Linked DNA regions of Homo sapiens: all the other regions are linked to region 1. Evidence: promoter capture Hi-C in human tissues and cell types (Jung and others, 2019). All regions are on one chromosome and are shown on one strand. Each heading gives the region's core, a stretch centred on a gene start or on the middle of the fragment in contact. The rest is flanking DNA. Distances are from core to core; before and after follow the strand shown.

What was found. Contacts are between HindIII fragments. The study calls those that stand out against the background at their distance.
Region 2: a contact is called between the fragment with the promoter of ABHD17A here and the fragment with the promoter of EFNA2 in region 1, in 1 of the 25 tissues and cell types used here (dorsolateral prefrontal cortex).
Region 3: a contact is called between the fragment with the promoter of KLF16 here and the fragment with the promoter of EFNA2 in region 1, in 2 of the 25 tissues and cell types used here (dorsolateral prefrontal cortex and lymphoblastoid cells).

Annotation. Positions count from the first base shown.
Region 1 is chr19:1,283,997-1,288,839 of GRCh38, reverse strand. EFNA2 (ephrin A2) reads right to left here and starts at 2,967. Exons shown (of 4, transcript NM_001405.4): 1 at 2,532-2,967. The coding sequence starts at 2,671. RefSeq lists enhancers at 291-877, 2,882-3,382, 3,383-3,883. The HindIII fragment of the contact is 32,397 bases long and covers 1-4,843 here.
Region 2 is chr19:1,883,175-1,888,017 of GRCh38, reverse strand. ABHD17A (abhydrolase domain containing 17A, depalmitoylase) reads left to right here and starts at 2,522. Exons shown (of 5, transcript NM_001130111.2): 1 at 2,522-2,666. RefSeq lists enhancers at 1-438, 439-943 and a silencer at 3,110-3,257. The HindIII fragment of the contact is 23,112 bases long and covers 1-4,843 here.
Region 3 is chr19:1,861,113-1,865,955 of GRCh38, reverse strand. KLF16 (KLF transcription factor 16) reads left to right here and starts at 2,377. Exons shown (of 2, transcript NM_031918.4): 1 at 2,377-2,915. The coding sequence starts at 2,459. RefSeq lists enhancers at 287-841, 3,949-4,834, silencers at 1,015-1,234, 1,305-2,404, 2,735-2,914, 2,965-3,134 and a promoter at 1,284-2,488. The HindIII fragment of the contact is 11,768 bases long and covers 1,343-4,843 here.

The sequences.
Region 1 (4,843 bases), core at 1,718-4,217:
GGACGGACGCTGTGCAGTCACCGGTGGGAGTGGCGGGGCCGGCCAGCCAGACCACCCAACGGGGCCCCACCTTATAGCGGCCCAAGGAGGTGGGTGCGGGGTCCCCTGGGTGCAGGCATCGCCTCTCACAGCAGAGAGGGTGTGATGTGGAGACAGACCACACAGTCATCGCCTGGGCACAGGTGCCAGGCCAATGGGCGGAAGGGGCGGCCGGCGACGCTGCGGCACTGCCCGGGCCTGCAGGCCCCATCGAGCACACGGTCCCCTGGTGCCCACGCTGCTGTCTGCCCCCCATCGCGGCTGTCCCCGTCTCCAGTGCCTTTCTGTATGCCCCTCTCAAAGACTTGGGGTCCCCGCATCCCCCACACACCTGCCCGACCCCATCATCCCTCCCCGGCCAGCCCAGCCTCACACCTTAGGCCTGCCGGCTGACGCCACTCCTCTCCCCAAGCCGATGTCCCCTCCACAGGGTCCCCTTGGATACGGAGGCCCAGCACCACCCCCTGCTGTGCCTGACACCCCCGCCACTCAGGCACAGGTCCCGGGCAGGTGCCCCTGGACACCAAATCTGAGAACTGCAGAGACCCCTGATGTCCGCGACAAAGCCCTGATTCTGGCTGGATCCCGGCTTCCCGGGAAGGTGCTCACCCAGCCCTGGGCCCCACTGCAGGGTGTCGGCTCCGTCCCCAGCAACCCTGGATACCGCAGGCAGGAGAGGAAGGAGGAGGCAGCCTCGGTGCTGCCCAGGTCGGCTCTGCGGACCAGCAAGGCCGTTCCCTCAGGCAGCGGTTTGAGCTGGGCAACCAGGTCAGACCCGGAGCAACAGGAGGTGGCTGGGCCAAGCCAGGCACTGGGGAGGCCACTTCCTTCCCCTGGCCGGGGGTCCGGCCCGCAGCCCACAGCCCTGTGGCAGGTGGGGCAGCAGGACGGCCCTGGTGACCACCTTCCTCCCCCGGTTGCCGGGTCCTCGTGTGTTTGGCGTTTGCTAGAACAAAGGACAGGCCACGCTGGGGACGGGAGATTCCGCAGCTGAAACCAAAAACTTGGGCCGGGGAAGCGCTGCCCGCTGGACTCCCCGCACGGCCAGCGACAGCCTTAATCAAACCCACATGTGACCAGCACAGCGGGCGGCTCGGGGACCCGCTCTGAGGTGGGCCAGCCGTCCCCCAGCGGCCCGGGGTCCCTGCCCTCAGCCCCCAGGGCCCGACCCGAGGCCGTTGACCAGGGTGGGGGGTGGGCCTGTGCGTGTTCCCCACCCCCACGGCGGAACACGGGCCGCCCTTGTCCCCGAGCCCGCCTCAAAGAGACCCCTTCATGCAACTTTCCTCCCGGGGACCGAGGACAGCAGGAGACAGAGGGGACAAGGAGGGGTGGCGGGCTCCAGAGGGCGGCTCGGTCGGCACAGGAAGCGGCTGGAAAACGGAGAGAAAGTGACCAGTAGCAGAAGAGTGGGGGGGGGCCGCCTCAGCCCCCGATGTGCAGCTCCGTGTGCCTTAGGAAGACGGTGACACCCTGAGTGCTGGGGCTGACTCCCTCCCGAGCCCCAGGACCCCCAAAGCCCCGGCTCCCACGGGACCCCCAGGGAAGCTGCAGCCTGCTCCTGTCTTGGAGACCCTGGGATGGTTCAGAGGGTTCTACCCACGTCCAGGCCATGGCCAGGCCCCGGCAAACTTTTTTTGCTCTGACCAACGGGGGCTTCTCCTGTCCCCCACGTTGTGCCTGGCCCGGACCTGGTTCAAAACAAGGGGGCCTGCAGCAGGCGGGTGCGGCATCTCGGCCGGGCGTGGCAGGCAGGGCACTGGGCCACCTGGGTCCTGCCCCCAAGTCCCCCCCTTGCATGACCTTGAGCCAGCTCCTCATCCCCTCTGCACCTCAGTTTCCTGGTCAGCGCCCAGAGGACAAGAGAGGACTCCATCCCACTGCCCCTCCCGGGGCTGACCCCCAGCTCCCCGGCCCCTCAGTCTCCTTTCAAAGCTGGGCCCTTGGCCCCCTGGAGTGAAGCAGATGCTGGGTCCTGAGGGAGGGACACTCCAACTTCCCCAAGTTCATCTGGGGACCTGCGGGCAGGACGAACCCAGAGATCCCTCGAGGGCCACAGTCCCCCACCTCCGGTGCCAAGGTCCCCGGGGATCCCCACCAAATGCGAAACCGAGGGGGCTCCCCAGAGAAGCGGGTGGATCAGGGGTCCCCCCAAGTCCAGGCAGGCAACTCAGGGGCTACCCGGCATCGGAGGGTACCAGAGGGGTTCCCCAAACTCCAGGAGACGTCGGCGCTCTGGGGGATGTGGGGCGCGAGTCCCCACAGTCCGTAGGGCAATGGGGCGCCCCGGGGAAGGCAGGCGCGAAAAGGGCGAGTCCCCCAAACTCCGGGGGGCCGGAGCTCCCTGGGGGGCTCCCGCGGGAACCGGGCGCCCGCATCCCGGCGGCGGCGCGCGCGTGGGGGGCGCCCGGAGCTCCGGGGGCGCGAGGCCGGGCGCGGCTTGGGGGGCGTTGGGGGGTCCCCGGGCGCCCCCCGCGCGCGGCCGCGCTCACCTGGGGTTGCTGCGGTTCCAGTAGACGGCGTAGCGGTCCGAGTTGGCGCGGGCGGCGTCCTCGGCGCGCGCGAAGGGCGGCGGCGGCAGCGGTAACAGCAGGAGCAGCAGCGGGAGCAGCGGGCGCTGCGCGGGCGCCATGGCCCCGGTCCGGCCGCCGCGCTCGCTCTCCCGGCCGCCGCCTGCCAGCCTTCTCCGCCTCCTCCGCCGCCGCCGCCGCCGCCGAGCGGGCGGGCGGAGGGCGGGCGGGAGGAGGGCGCGGCGGCGCTTGGAGATCCCGGGCCGCCCCCGCCTCCGCGCGCGCGACCTCGGGCGCCGAGAAGTCAGGCGGCGGCGGGGCGGGGCGCCGGGGTCGCCCCGGGCGCAGGACCCGGCCGCGCGGACTGTCGGAGCGCGGGCCGCCGCCGCCGCACCCGCCGGGGAGGGGCCCGGGCTCCGGCCTTTGTCCCGCCCGAGCGTCGGGAGGGCCGCGGGCGCCCCCTCCCGCCGTGCCCCGGCCGCGCGGGGACTGGGCGGGGGTCTCCAGCCTGCGCCCGCCCCCTGCCCCGGCCCACCCCGTCTCAGGCTCGTCCCCCGGGGCCTGCCCCCAGCGACCCCGATTCTGCGCGCCCCCCGCCGGCATCCGCGTGGCCCGGCCTGGGGTCTCCGAGGGGCGGGGGCGCACCCTGCCTCCCGCGCCCCCACGCGCTCCACCCGGCCCGGCCCTGGGTCCCGGGCCTCTCACCTGCCCGGTTCCAGCGCTATCCGCAGCCTCACCAACCCCGACGCACGCGTCCCAAATCGGGCTCGGCCAACTCCAGTCTCCCTGCGGGGGCCGGGGCAGAGTTTCAGAGGGGCGCTGGCCAAAGTCCAAAGCTGCTCGGGCTGCGACCTCCCTGGGGCCCTCCTGGGAGTCGCCTCTCCGGACCCACGCTGTTCCCTGGGGATGGAGTAAGTCCCTACACCTCAGCCCTAAGGGTGCCGGGAGCATAGTAGGTGGACCGATGTGGAGTGTGAGCAGCTGGGGATGGGATCCAAGAAGCCCAGAGTGAAGCCCCGGCCGACAGCAAATCAGTCTCCACGCACGAATCCTGCAGGCAGGGGAGGGCCGCTGCCCGGGGGCACAGCTTGTGCAAAGACCCGGGGTCTGATCTGTTCAGGGAACGCCGAGTGATTTCTCCTCCTGGTAGGCTGACACAGGTGGGGAACTGGGGGCCTGGCCTCTGCTTTGTCTTTTTTCCAATCTATAGAGACAGTGTCTGGCCATGTTGGCCACGCTGGTCTTGAACTCCTGGGCTCAGGCGATCTTCCCACCTGGGCTTCCCAAAGTGCTAGGATTACAGGCGTGAGCCACTGCACCTGGCCTGCCCTCTGTTTTTGCCCTTATTCATGCCACAGCCTCCCTCACCAGACTCTGAGCTTGTGGAGGGTAGGCTGTCATCAAACGCTGGCTGGACTTTGCTGGCGATGCCCAGATCGTGTTGTACGTCTCTGAATTAGTGTCATTCACCAGGCCCAGTGCAGGAGAGGGAACTGCAGGGCAAGCACCAACAGCCCTTGGACCCGAAGGTCCCTGTGTGAGGCATTACCCAAACTCCTGGCAGGGACCGTGAACCCAGAGATGGGCAAGCTAACCTGTGCCCCAGCAAGGTGGGGTGGGGACCGGACCCACCACCGTCCCACAGCTCTGAGACGTGGTGGGCTCTGTCCTGTGTCTCCTGCGTGCCCTCCTCCCCCGATTCCCCAGCGGGCCACGCGGGCCACACCACCTGACCTTTGTTCAGGCTGGGTCCTGCTGGGAAGTCCTTCCACTTTTTCTTCCTGTTAAAATCTTGCTCTTCCAGAAAGGTCTGTCCCACCCAGTGCTCTAGCGTCCCTGCCAGGACAAGGTTCTCAGTTCTCTCTCCTCCAGGGAGCTCAGCCCGTCTGTTCTGAGCTCCAGGTCTCATCCCCTGACCCCACTACAGACGTCCCAGGTCGAAGGCCCAGGGCTGGCCGGGTGTCTCTTCAGTGGAGGGCGTGAACCTGTCCCAGGTGGTGGCTGAGGCAGGCCCTCTGGACAGGCTCTCTCAGCACCCCTGGAGTGAGGGCCTTGGGTTCTAGCCACACAAGGCTCTGTAGCCCAGACAGGCTGGAGAAGCTTCCCGGGCGGCTCCGTCTGGTGGGGGGCTCTTTTAGGGAGGGGGACGGCCACTCCCGGAGGTGAGCACTTTCGGAGCAGAGTGTGGCGGCTGCACCCAAGCACAGGACAAGGGGCCGTGAGCCTGGGGTCTTGGCGTGCCCGGCCCCAGCATGCCACCTGGCAAAGGTGGGAGTTCTGGAAGCTTCCTTCTA
Region 2 (4,843 bases), core at 1,273-3,772, 600 kb before region 1:
AGAAAATGAGGCAAAGCAGCCAGGTGCGGTGGTTCACGCCTGTAATCCCAGCACTTTGGGAGGCCGAGGCTGGCAGATCACTTGAGGTCAGGAGTTCGAGACCAGCCTGGCCAACATAGCGAAACCCCATCTCTACTAAAAATACAAAAATTAGCCGGGTGCAGTGGCGGGTGCCTGTTAGCTCAGCTACTCGGGAGGCTGAGGCAGAAGAATAGCTTGAATCTGAGAGGTGGAGGTTGCAGTGAGCCGAGATCGCGCCACTGCACTCCAACATGGGTGACAGAATAAGACTCTGTCTCAAAACAACAACAACCAAAAAAAAAAAGAGGAAAGAAAATGAGGCAAAGAAACCCTGGGCTATCTCTAAGTCTCTAGTCTTTTGAGCCTGATTCCTTCCCTGGCAGCTGTGTCCTGAATTTGAGGAATGAGCCCCTGGGGGCAGGATTGGCCCAGGAGCCTCAGGCTTATCTCAGAACAGTGGAGCTAAGATGAGAGTCCCTGGGACGGAGCGGGGGCTGCGGTTGCCTGCAGGCTGGAGGAGCATTTTGAGCTGGAAAAGGCACGAAAGCTGGGGGGAAGGCACATATGAGAGAAGGCCTGAAAAGCAAGGCTTCCCACCAATTCACACTCACACTTCCAGGCTGGGCCCCTTTGGTGTCTGCAGCCCTTTCTGCCCCTGTCCCTGTCACTTCCTTAGAAAGGCCTGCCCTGACCACGCTCTGAGATTCTCCAGTAACCTTCTTCCATTTTCTTTTCTTTACTTTTTTTTTTTTTGAGGCAGAGTCTTGCTCTGTCGCCCAGGCTGGAGTGCAGTGGCGTGGAGTAGCTGAGATTACAGGTGCGCGCCACAACAGCCGGCTAATTTTTGTATTTTTAGTAGAGATGGGGTTTCACCATGTTGGCCAGGGTGGCCTAATTTTTGTATTTTTAGTAGAGACAGGATTTCACCATGTTGGCCAGGCTGAACTCCTAACTTCAGGTGATCTGCCTGCCTCGTTCTCCCAAAGTGCTGAGATTACAGGCGTGAGCCACTAGGCCCTGCCATAATGCAATTTTTTTTTTTTTTGAGACGGAGTCTCGCTCTGTCGCCCAGTCTGGAGTGCAGTGGCGCGGTCTCAGCTCACTGCAAGCTCTGCCTCCTGGGTTCACGCCGTTCTCCTGCCTCAGCCTCCCGAGTAGCTGGGACTACAGGCGCCCGCCACCACGCCCGGCTATCTTTTTGTATTTTTAGTAGAGATGAGGTTTCACCGTGTTAGCCAGGATGGTCTTGATCTCCTAACCTCATGATCTGCCCGACTCGGCCTCCCAAAGTGCTGGGATTATAGGCGTGAGCCACCGCGCCCAGCCCATAATGAAATTTTTTTAAGAGACAGGATCTTGCTCTCTCGCCCAGGCTGGAATGCAGTGGAGTGATCATAGTTTTATTTATTTATTTATTTATTTATTTATTTATTTATTTATTTATCTGAGACAGTCTTCTTGCTCTGTCACTTGGGCTGGAGCACAGTGGCCCGATCTTGGCTCACTGCAACCTTCGCCTCCCGGGTTCAAGCGATTCTCCTGCCTCAGCCTCCGGAGTAGCTGGGACTACAGGCGCGTGCCACCATGCCCGGCTAATATTTGTATTTTTAGTAGAGACAGGGTTTCACCACGTTGGTCAGGCTTGGTCTCAAACTCCTGACTTCAGGTGATCTACCTGTTTCAGTCTCCCAAAGTGCTGGGATTACAGGCATGAGCCACCGTGCCCGGCCTAATGTAATATTTTAAAAACTAATGCAAAAGAATTTCTGATGAGCAATATATAAAGACTTTAAATAAGCTGGTCATGGTGGCTTGTGCCTATAGTCCTAGCTACTCAGGAGGCTGAAGTAGGAGGTTCACTTGATCCTGGGAGGTCGAGGCTGCAGTGAGCTATGATGGCACCAGCCTGGGTGACAGAGTAGACTCTATGTTAAAAAAAAGAGGCCAGGTGCGGTGGCTGATGCCTGTAATCCCAACACTTTGGGAGGCTGAGGCAGGAGGATTCTGGGGTCAGGAGTTCGAGGCCACACTGGCCAACATGGGGAAACCCCGTCTCTACTGAAAACACAAAAATTAGCTGGGCATGGTGGTGGGCGCCGGTAATCCCAGCTACTCAGGAGGCTGAGGCAGGAGAATCGCTTGATCCCAGGAGGCAGAAGTTGCAGTGAGCTGAGATCGCGCCATTGTACTCCAGCCTGGGCGACAGAGCGCGACTCCATCTCATAAAGAAAAATATTTTAAAACATTTCTAAATGTTGATGTCTGAGTTTTTTTTGGCGTCCCTGTAAATTTTGTTTTCCAGGCGAGAACTTTACTGGCCTCAACCTATTCCGGGTCCCCAAGTGAATGAAACCTAAGTTTGGCCCCGCCCACAGAGCAGCAGGCCACGCCCCTCGACATATCAGCCCCGCCCCCAGGACGCTAGTCGCGCGGTCGCTCTGTGCCTGCAGACCCCCGCCCCGCGCGCTCCTCGCGTCACTTCCGGGGCGGTGGTGAGAACGAGGCTCACTTCCGTCCGTGGGGGGAGCTGCGGCGGTGGCGGTGCAGGAGGCCGGGCAGGGGTGCGGAGGGACCGACGGACGCACGGGCGGGCGGCCGGGAGCCATGGAGCGCGGCCCTGGGGCCCGGGGGCGCGGGCCGGGGTGGTGAGTGCCGGGCAGGGGCGGGGGCGGGCGCGGCCGCGCGGGGTCCCGGGCCGGGCCTCGAGGGCCTGACAGCCCGGTTGGACGTCCCCGAGACCCCTGCAGTCCCAGGGCTTCCGCGGGTCCTGCCCGAGGAGCCCAGAGCAGGGGCGCGGACCGCGGATGAGCGTCTGTGATTGGGAAAGCCCTGTCCCCATCCATTCAGCCCTCCGGCGTGGGTTGCGCTCCCACCCTCCTGCGGACGCGGCCCTTGCCTTCGGGGAGCACCCGTCCGAGCCGCGGATTCCGCTCTTTTGCCCCGAAACTGCCCCCAGTCCGACAAACGCTTCGGCCTCTCGCCCCCCAAGGCAGCTCCCAGGGGCCCTCCCGAGCCCTGCTTCCCAACCAGCTCCCAGTCGCTGTTTCCCTTGTCAGGCTTCTTCCTGCCACCCTGACTCCTGGGCGGGCTTCCCGGCCTCCGCTCGCGTCCGTTCTCCGGGATGCAGCCCTTCTCCTATGTTGTCCATCGCTTGCTCGGGACTTCTTCGCGGCCCCGCCATTTCTCCCAGGATGAAGTGCAAACTCTCGGGGGCGCGACCTCACCCGTCCCAGGCTCTCTCTTAGGACCCTTCTGCTCACTTCTTCCTCCCAGGGTCTGCTCTAGCCAGGAGCCTGCTCTGTCACCTCGGATTTTGCTCCTGCTTGTCCCTCTGTCCCATCCCCCTGTCACCTGGCCCGTTTGTCTGCCCTCTGATATGGCCGCGCCTCCCCCCAGGCGGGTTTCCCACCCTGACTGGTTGAGTGAGGTGCAGTCACCGTCTCCCATATGTAGGTCATCTTCCAGTATTTTGGCTGCTCGGTTGCTTGCTGGTCCTCAGAACACCTCTAGCTTGCAGAGGGTTGCCCAGTTAAGTGCGTGGGAACGGAATTGGTGGGATTCAGGGTGTCAAGGGTGTGTGCCCAGTGAGTGAGGCGTCTGGGTTTGCACTCCCCAGTCCACGCCCATTAGTGACACTAGGGAGGTTCCAGGTACCTGTGGCTGGAGAGGAGAGGAGACTAGACTTTCCCTTCCCTGTCAAAGCTGGCGGACCTTGGGGATTCTTTTCCTCCTGTGCTTCCTCCTTAATTCTGTGCTGCCTACCACCTGCCCATTCCTTTAGTGAGTGGCAGGTCATGGTCCTGCTCTCATAGAGTTTCTGGTTTGGAGGTGGGGGGAGATCTGGCCAAACGTGTGAAAAATACAAGCTGTGGAAAGAGCGTGTAAGGGGTCCTGTCCCAGCTTTGAGGACTCTGAGAGCGTTGGCAGTGAGGTGCAAAGGGTGGTTGGGTTGGGCAAGGCTGTCTAGTGAGGTTGGGGAAGGGAGTTCCTGGCAGAGGAGCAGAGGCAGGAAGGGGCAATTTGGCTTGTCTTGAGGGAGCCAGGAGTGGCAGGGTGTGAGATGAGTGAGTCTGGAGAGGTCGGCCTGAGCCGGAATGCGGACCTGGCAGGCTGTGGGGAGGGCTTTGATCTCTATCCAGGGAATAATGGGAGGCCCCCAGGACACCCCAAGAGGGAAGCGGCTCCATTGCATTTGTGTCGTGAAAGATTGTTTGGCTGCTGGGGGAGAATGTCCTGGAGCAGGTGATCAGCAAGGAGGGAGGCTGTTGCTGTGGCTCTGGTGAAAGGTGATGGAGGCAGGGACCGGGCGGTGGCTGATGGGAGACAGGCAGAGCCACCGGGCTGGTGATGGACCGGCTCAGATCCAGTGGGTGGAAGGAGGTGTCAAGGATAACATCTTTGTTTCTGGCCTGGATAGTGGGGCCCTGGCCACCTCGGTGTGCCCCTTCGTCTCCGGGGTCTCCAGGGGCCTGCTGCTGTCCACTGGGCTCTCAGGACCCAGCTGCATGATGCCACCTAAACTGCAGGGCCCTCCAAGTCCCCAGCACCAGCGGGGCAGCACCGGTAGGGCCTGGACCTCTTTGAGAATATGTTGAAAAGCTGACATCAACCTCGACGCTGTGGATGTTGGGCCTGATCATTCTTTGGGGTGGGTCTGTCCTGGGCACTGCAGGGTGCTAAGCAGCCTCCACCCAGTCCCCAGTGGTGACACCCAAAACTGTGTCCAGACATTGACAGGTGTCTCCAGGAGGGAGACTCGCCTCCATCTGAGAAGCAGAACCAGCCTGACAGTCCACCTCCCGGCTGAAAAGTGCTTGCATGT
Region 3 (4,843 bases), core at 1,128-3,627, 580 kb before region 1:
ATAGCTTCAAGTGATCCTCCTACCCTGGTCTCTCAAAGTGCTGGCATTCCAGGCGTGAGCCACCGCACCCGGTGGAGAATTTACAGGGTCATAGAGAGTAAGGAAGAGAGGACAGAGCCCTGTGCCGGGCGCTGCTGGAGGTTTGTCTGTGTTCACCGCAGGGGTCATGGGTTGCCTGAGTGTTCCTGGGGCTTAGGGGTGTGAATAGAAGCCTCATGGGTGGGGTGTGGGCTGTGTGCCCTCACCTGGGGTCTCCTGCCTGTGGAGTGGCTGGCATGACCTGCAGATGAGGCCACTCACTTGAAACCCTGATAATGGCTGGAGTGGGCAGACAATGGAGTCTCACAGTGAAGGTCCTGCCTGGGGCCATGTGGCCCACCCCTGGAGGCTGCTCACCCCTGCCCCCCATCGTTAGCCTCCCAGTTACAACTGTAAGCCCCTTGAGGGCAGGGCTGGTTGGTTCTGCTCTAAGCCCAGGAAACATCAGTGGAAGACGCATGGTTGGGTGTGGACCCTGAGGCCTCAAGACACACCTGTCCACAAGCCAATGCGGGGTTCCAGGACCCTGGGGGCTGCTGGGATGGTGGGGACCTGGGGGACCTGCCCAAGTGGCCCATCGTCCTAGAAGTTCAAAGACAACAGAGGCCCAGCAGGAGCAGGAACGCCGACCCCCAGCGCCCACCGAATGGTAGGGGTGCAGAGAGGGCTCTGGAGCCCAGGCCTAGGAGAGGGGCAAGTGTGTGCAGGGCACCCTGTACCCTCCCACACTTCGCTGAACCTCCTCTCTCTCGGCTCCGCTCTGTCCAGCCACGTAGAGTGGGCTTACTGGGGCCCAGGGAGGGCTCAGCTGGCTTAACCAAGCATGGTTGAGCCCAGGCGCAGTGCGGGCGACCCAGGGAACAGTGGTCAGCCTCAGGGCGTCAGCTGGGGTTGCAGGTGGGCGGGGGATGGGGCTAGAGAAGCCCCGAATCGGGTCAGGGCCTCTGTCCATGCCCAACCCAGAGCAGGAGGTCGCCGCAGGCCAAAGCAGCTCCGCCCCCTGGAGGCAGCTCCGGCCACTGCGCAGTCCCCGCCGCCCCGCCGGAGCTGGGAAGGGGCGGGAGCGCGGTCGCGACCGAGGGGGGCCGCCCAGTTTCTGTGCCCCCGCCGCCTTGGGCCTGCGAACTGGGCCATCCGCGTCCCTGGTGTCCCCCCTAATATTTAACAAGTTGGCCTGGACGTCCTCGCGGCCGGGAGGCCCGAATACCTGGCCTCAGTTTTCCCGTCCGAACCCCAAGAATCGATGCCTGGGAATGGAAAGAGAAGCCCCGGACCCCGGTGTCCCAGCAGGGCGGGGAACCTCTGACCCGCTCAGGCGCCCCCAGCCCAGCCCAGCCCTTTGCGTTCGGCCCCCTCTTCCCGTCCCCCTATCCCGACCCTCTGGGACCCAACCGGCCCTCCCCACCCCCAGTGGGGCGCGCTCTAGTAGCTCCGGAACTGGGTGCAAAAAGAGGAACGAACGCAGCCTTGCCCCACCCTCCCGGGCCCCGCCGCGGGCGCGGGATACCGGGTGTCTCGGCCGGGAGGCTCCGAGGGGCTCTGTGAGCGGCGAGGGGGAACCCCAGAGAAGAGGACGAGCAGATGCCTGAGTGCGGGGTCAAAGCAGGGCCCCAGGCCGGGAGAAGAGGGGGGAAGGGTCGCGCACGTGGCCTGGGGGCGGGGCCGGCCGCTTCCGCACCCCTCCAACCCCGGCCACGTGGGGATCGGAGCCCTCCTCCATCGCGAACGGGGGCGCGCCCGGGGCCAGGAGGGAAGCATCCGGGGAGGGGGCGGGCTCCCGCCGGCCGCGCGCCCCGGCGTGGGGTGGGCGCGCCAGCGAGGAGGCGGGGCGCGCTCTGGGAGGGAGGGGCGTGCCGGGATGGGGCGGGGCGCGCTCTCGGAAGGAGGGGCGTGCCGGAGAGGGGGCGGGGTCCTCGGCCTCCCGCCCCGGCTTGAGGGGGTGGTGCTCCGGGAAAGGGTACGGGGGCGCGCGCTGGAGTGGGGCGCGCCGGGAGGGGGCGGGGCTCCCGGCCTTGCACCCTAGCGCGGAGAAGGCGCGCTCCGGGCCTAAGACGCTAGGCGCTGGCGGAGGCCGGAGTGGGCGCGCCGGGGGGCGGGTTCCTCCGGCCCGAGCCCCGCCCCCGGCGGCCGCGCGCGGCTCGGAGAGTGGTGGAGGGCGCGCCGGGCGGGGGGCGTGGCTGCGGCGCCCCGAGGGGGCGTCCTCCGGGCGGGGCGGGCTGTGGCCGCCCCCGCGGGCTCCGGTGCGTCAGGACGCGTCAGGCGGGGCGGGGCAGGCCGAGCGCGGGCGTCGGCGGCGGCGCGCGCCGGGCCTCCTCCTCCTCCTCCTCCGCCTCCCGCACTCGAGCAGCCGCCGCCGGCCGGACGGACGCCGCTCCCGCCGCCTCCGCTCCGCCCGCCGCGCCGCGCGCCCTTGCTCGGCATGTCGGCGGCCGTGGCGTGCGTGGATTACTTCGCCGCCGACGTGCTCATGGCCATCTCTTCGGGCGCCGTGGTGCACCGCGGGCGGCCCGGCCCCGAGGGCGCGGGCCCCGCCGCCGGCCTGGATGTGCGCGCGGCGCGCCGCGAGGCCGCCTCACCCGGGACCCCGGGGCCACCCCCGCCGCCCCCCGCCGCTTCTGGCCCGGGCCCCGGCGCCGCCGCGGCGCCCCACCTGCTGGCCGCCAGCATCCTGGCCGACCTGCGCGGCGGACCCGGAGCCGCCCCGGGGGGCGCCTCGCCCGCCTCCTCCTCCTCAGCCGCCTCGTCCCCGTCCTCGGGCCGCGCCCCCGGCGCCGCGCCCTCCGCCGCCGCCAAGAGCCACCGCTGTCCCTTCCCGGACTGCGCCAAAGCCTACTACAAGTCCTCGCACCTAAAGTCGCACCTGCGGACGCACACAGGTGAGTGCAGCCGCGATCCCGGCCCTTGCGGGGGCGGCCGCCTGAGACCCCTCCCCCGCCAGGACCCCGAAACTGCGTGGCGCGTGGGGGGCGGGGAGGGGGGCGCGCCCGGGCCGCCGCCGCGCCGGCCGGCAGGGCGGGGCCTCGGTGGGTGGGGCGCGCGCGGGGGGCGTGGCGGCCACGCGGTCGGGCGGCGAGCGGATGGCCGCCCCGGCGGCAGTGGCGGGGGCTCCGGGGGCCCAGCGAGGTCTGCGGGCGGGATTGAGACTCCTGGGCAGACCACCTCTCTCCCTTTCTGGGCCTTGTTCCGTTTTTTTTTTTTTCTTTTGCGTTCTGGTCTGGGCGGTGGGCACCGTGGTTGGAGCATCCGGCTCTGGGGTTCTGGGTTCTCCCCCTCCCCCAGCCTCAGTTTCCTTATCTGTGAAAATGGAGGAGGAACCGCGTCGCCGCCGCCGGGGTGGCCGCGCGGATTCTCCCCAGAGGTCGGCAGAGCACCTGGCGTGGGGCCAGGATGGGGGGAGCCCGGCACGTTTTCTCTGCGTTCTCTGTATTTTAACGAGGGGGAGGGCGAGGCTAGGAGCGCGGGTTGGGGCCTGAGTCTGGGCGGGGGAACTTCATAGTATTGGAGGACCCTCGAGGGGCTCGGGTCCACACTGCTGTATTTCCCTGGCGTGTTTGTTCACCCCTACCTGGCGGGCGATTCGGGAAGGTGCGCGTAGTTGGAGCGCTTCGGCTACACCAACGCCCCTCCTAGCGCAGTCCCCGGGGCGGCGAGGGGAACCGGGAGCCTGGTGGGCCTGGCTGTATTTTTTCACTCCGTCCCCTCCTAGGGTTCCACTTTCTGGACTGGGAGTTTGGACTGGGCAACAGGGGACGGTGGGCCTTGATGGCCGGCCCTGGTTTGGGCATTAGAGGTGCTTGTCCCTTCCGGGGAGGGTGGGGGGCTGGGGGAAAGCTGTGCGGCTGCCCTTGGGCTTGGCATTCTGGCCTTGCCACCAAACAGAAGACCTCTACCCGATCTGGGTCTCAATTTTCTCATTTCTATCAAGAGTGCGATGCTGCCTCTATTTCATAGCCATAGCGGTGGCCGCTTTGGGCAGCTGGACACTCCAAGGAGGCTTGGTCCGTGGGCTCGGATTGTAGGGACACGTGGAGCAGCCGAAGGGAAGTGGGCCGTCCAGAGTGGTGGGGCTGAGATGAGCAGGGGCCGCGAATGCCTTGCGGAAGAATTGAGGGTCCATCTTTGGGGTATGGGGAGCCGCGCTGGGACGCCTGAGGGTGGAGAGCAGGAGGGCGGGTGGGGGCGGTGGTGTGTAGCCTGCCGGCCGCCCCCTCTCTGTTCTGCACTCTTTTCACCCCTCGCTCAGTCCCTGTCCTGGTCCCAGGGGCCTGGAGGCTCTGCCCACCTTGAGACACAGACGGGAACCGAGGGCGTCAAGACAGGACTTGGGTGGGGTCTGCGTTTTCTGCGAGGAGCCACACATCCTCGGCGGAGGGGTCCCAGGGTGTTACCTCTTTTTGAGGGCAATGGGGTCCGTGTATCTCCGCGGGGAGGGACATTGGGGGTCTGTGAAGATGGCGAGGCAGCGTTGGGAACAGAAAGGGAGGTGCCTCTCCGGGCGGTGGGCAGGGGTCCAGGAGTGCCCTGGCTTTTTGGGGGTAAGTTGGGCGATCTGAACAGACGGGGCTGAAGTGGGAGCCTGTTGGGAAAGCGACTCCCACCTGTCTACCCAGGTCATTCTTTTCTTGCCAGATGGCGTGGCCTGAGAGCTCCATTTGGGTTTTCTGAGTTTCTGGGTTAAGTGGACGGGATGGCCACCTCCCTGAGTGGCACCCAAGAGGCGCTTCCATAGGCCCCCGGGTATTGGGGCAGCGGTCCCTAAGCCAGCAGGGAGGGGAGGGATGGGTTTGGAGTCCTGGGAAGGCAG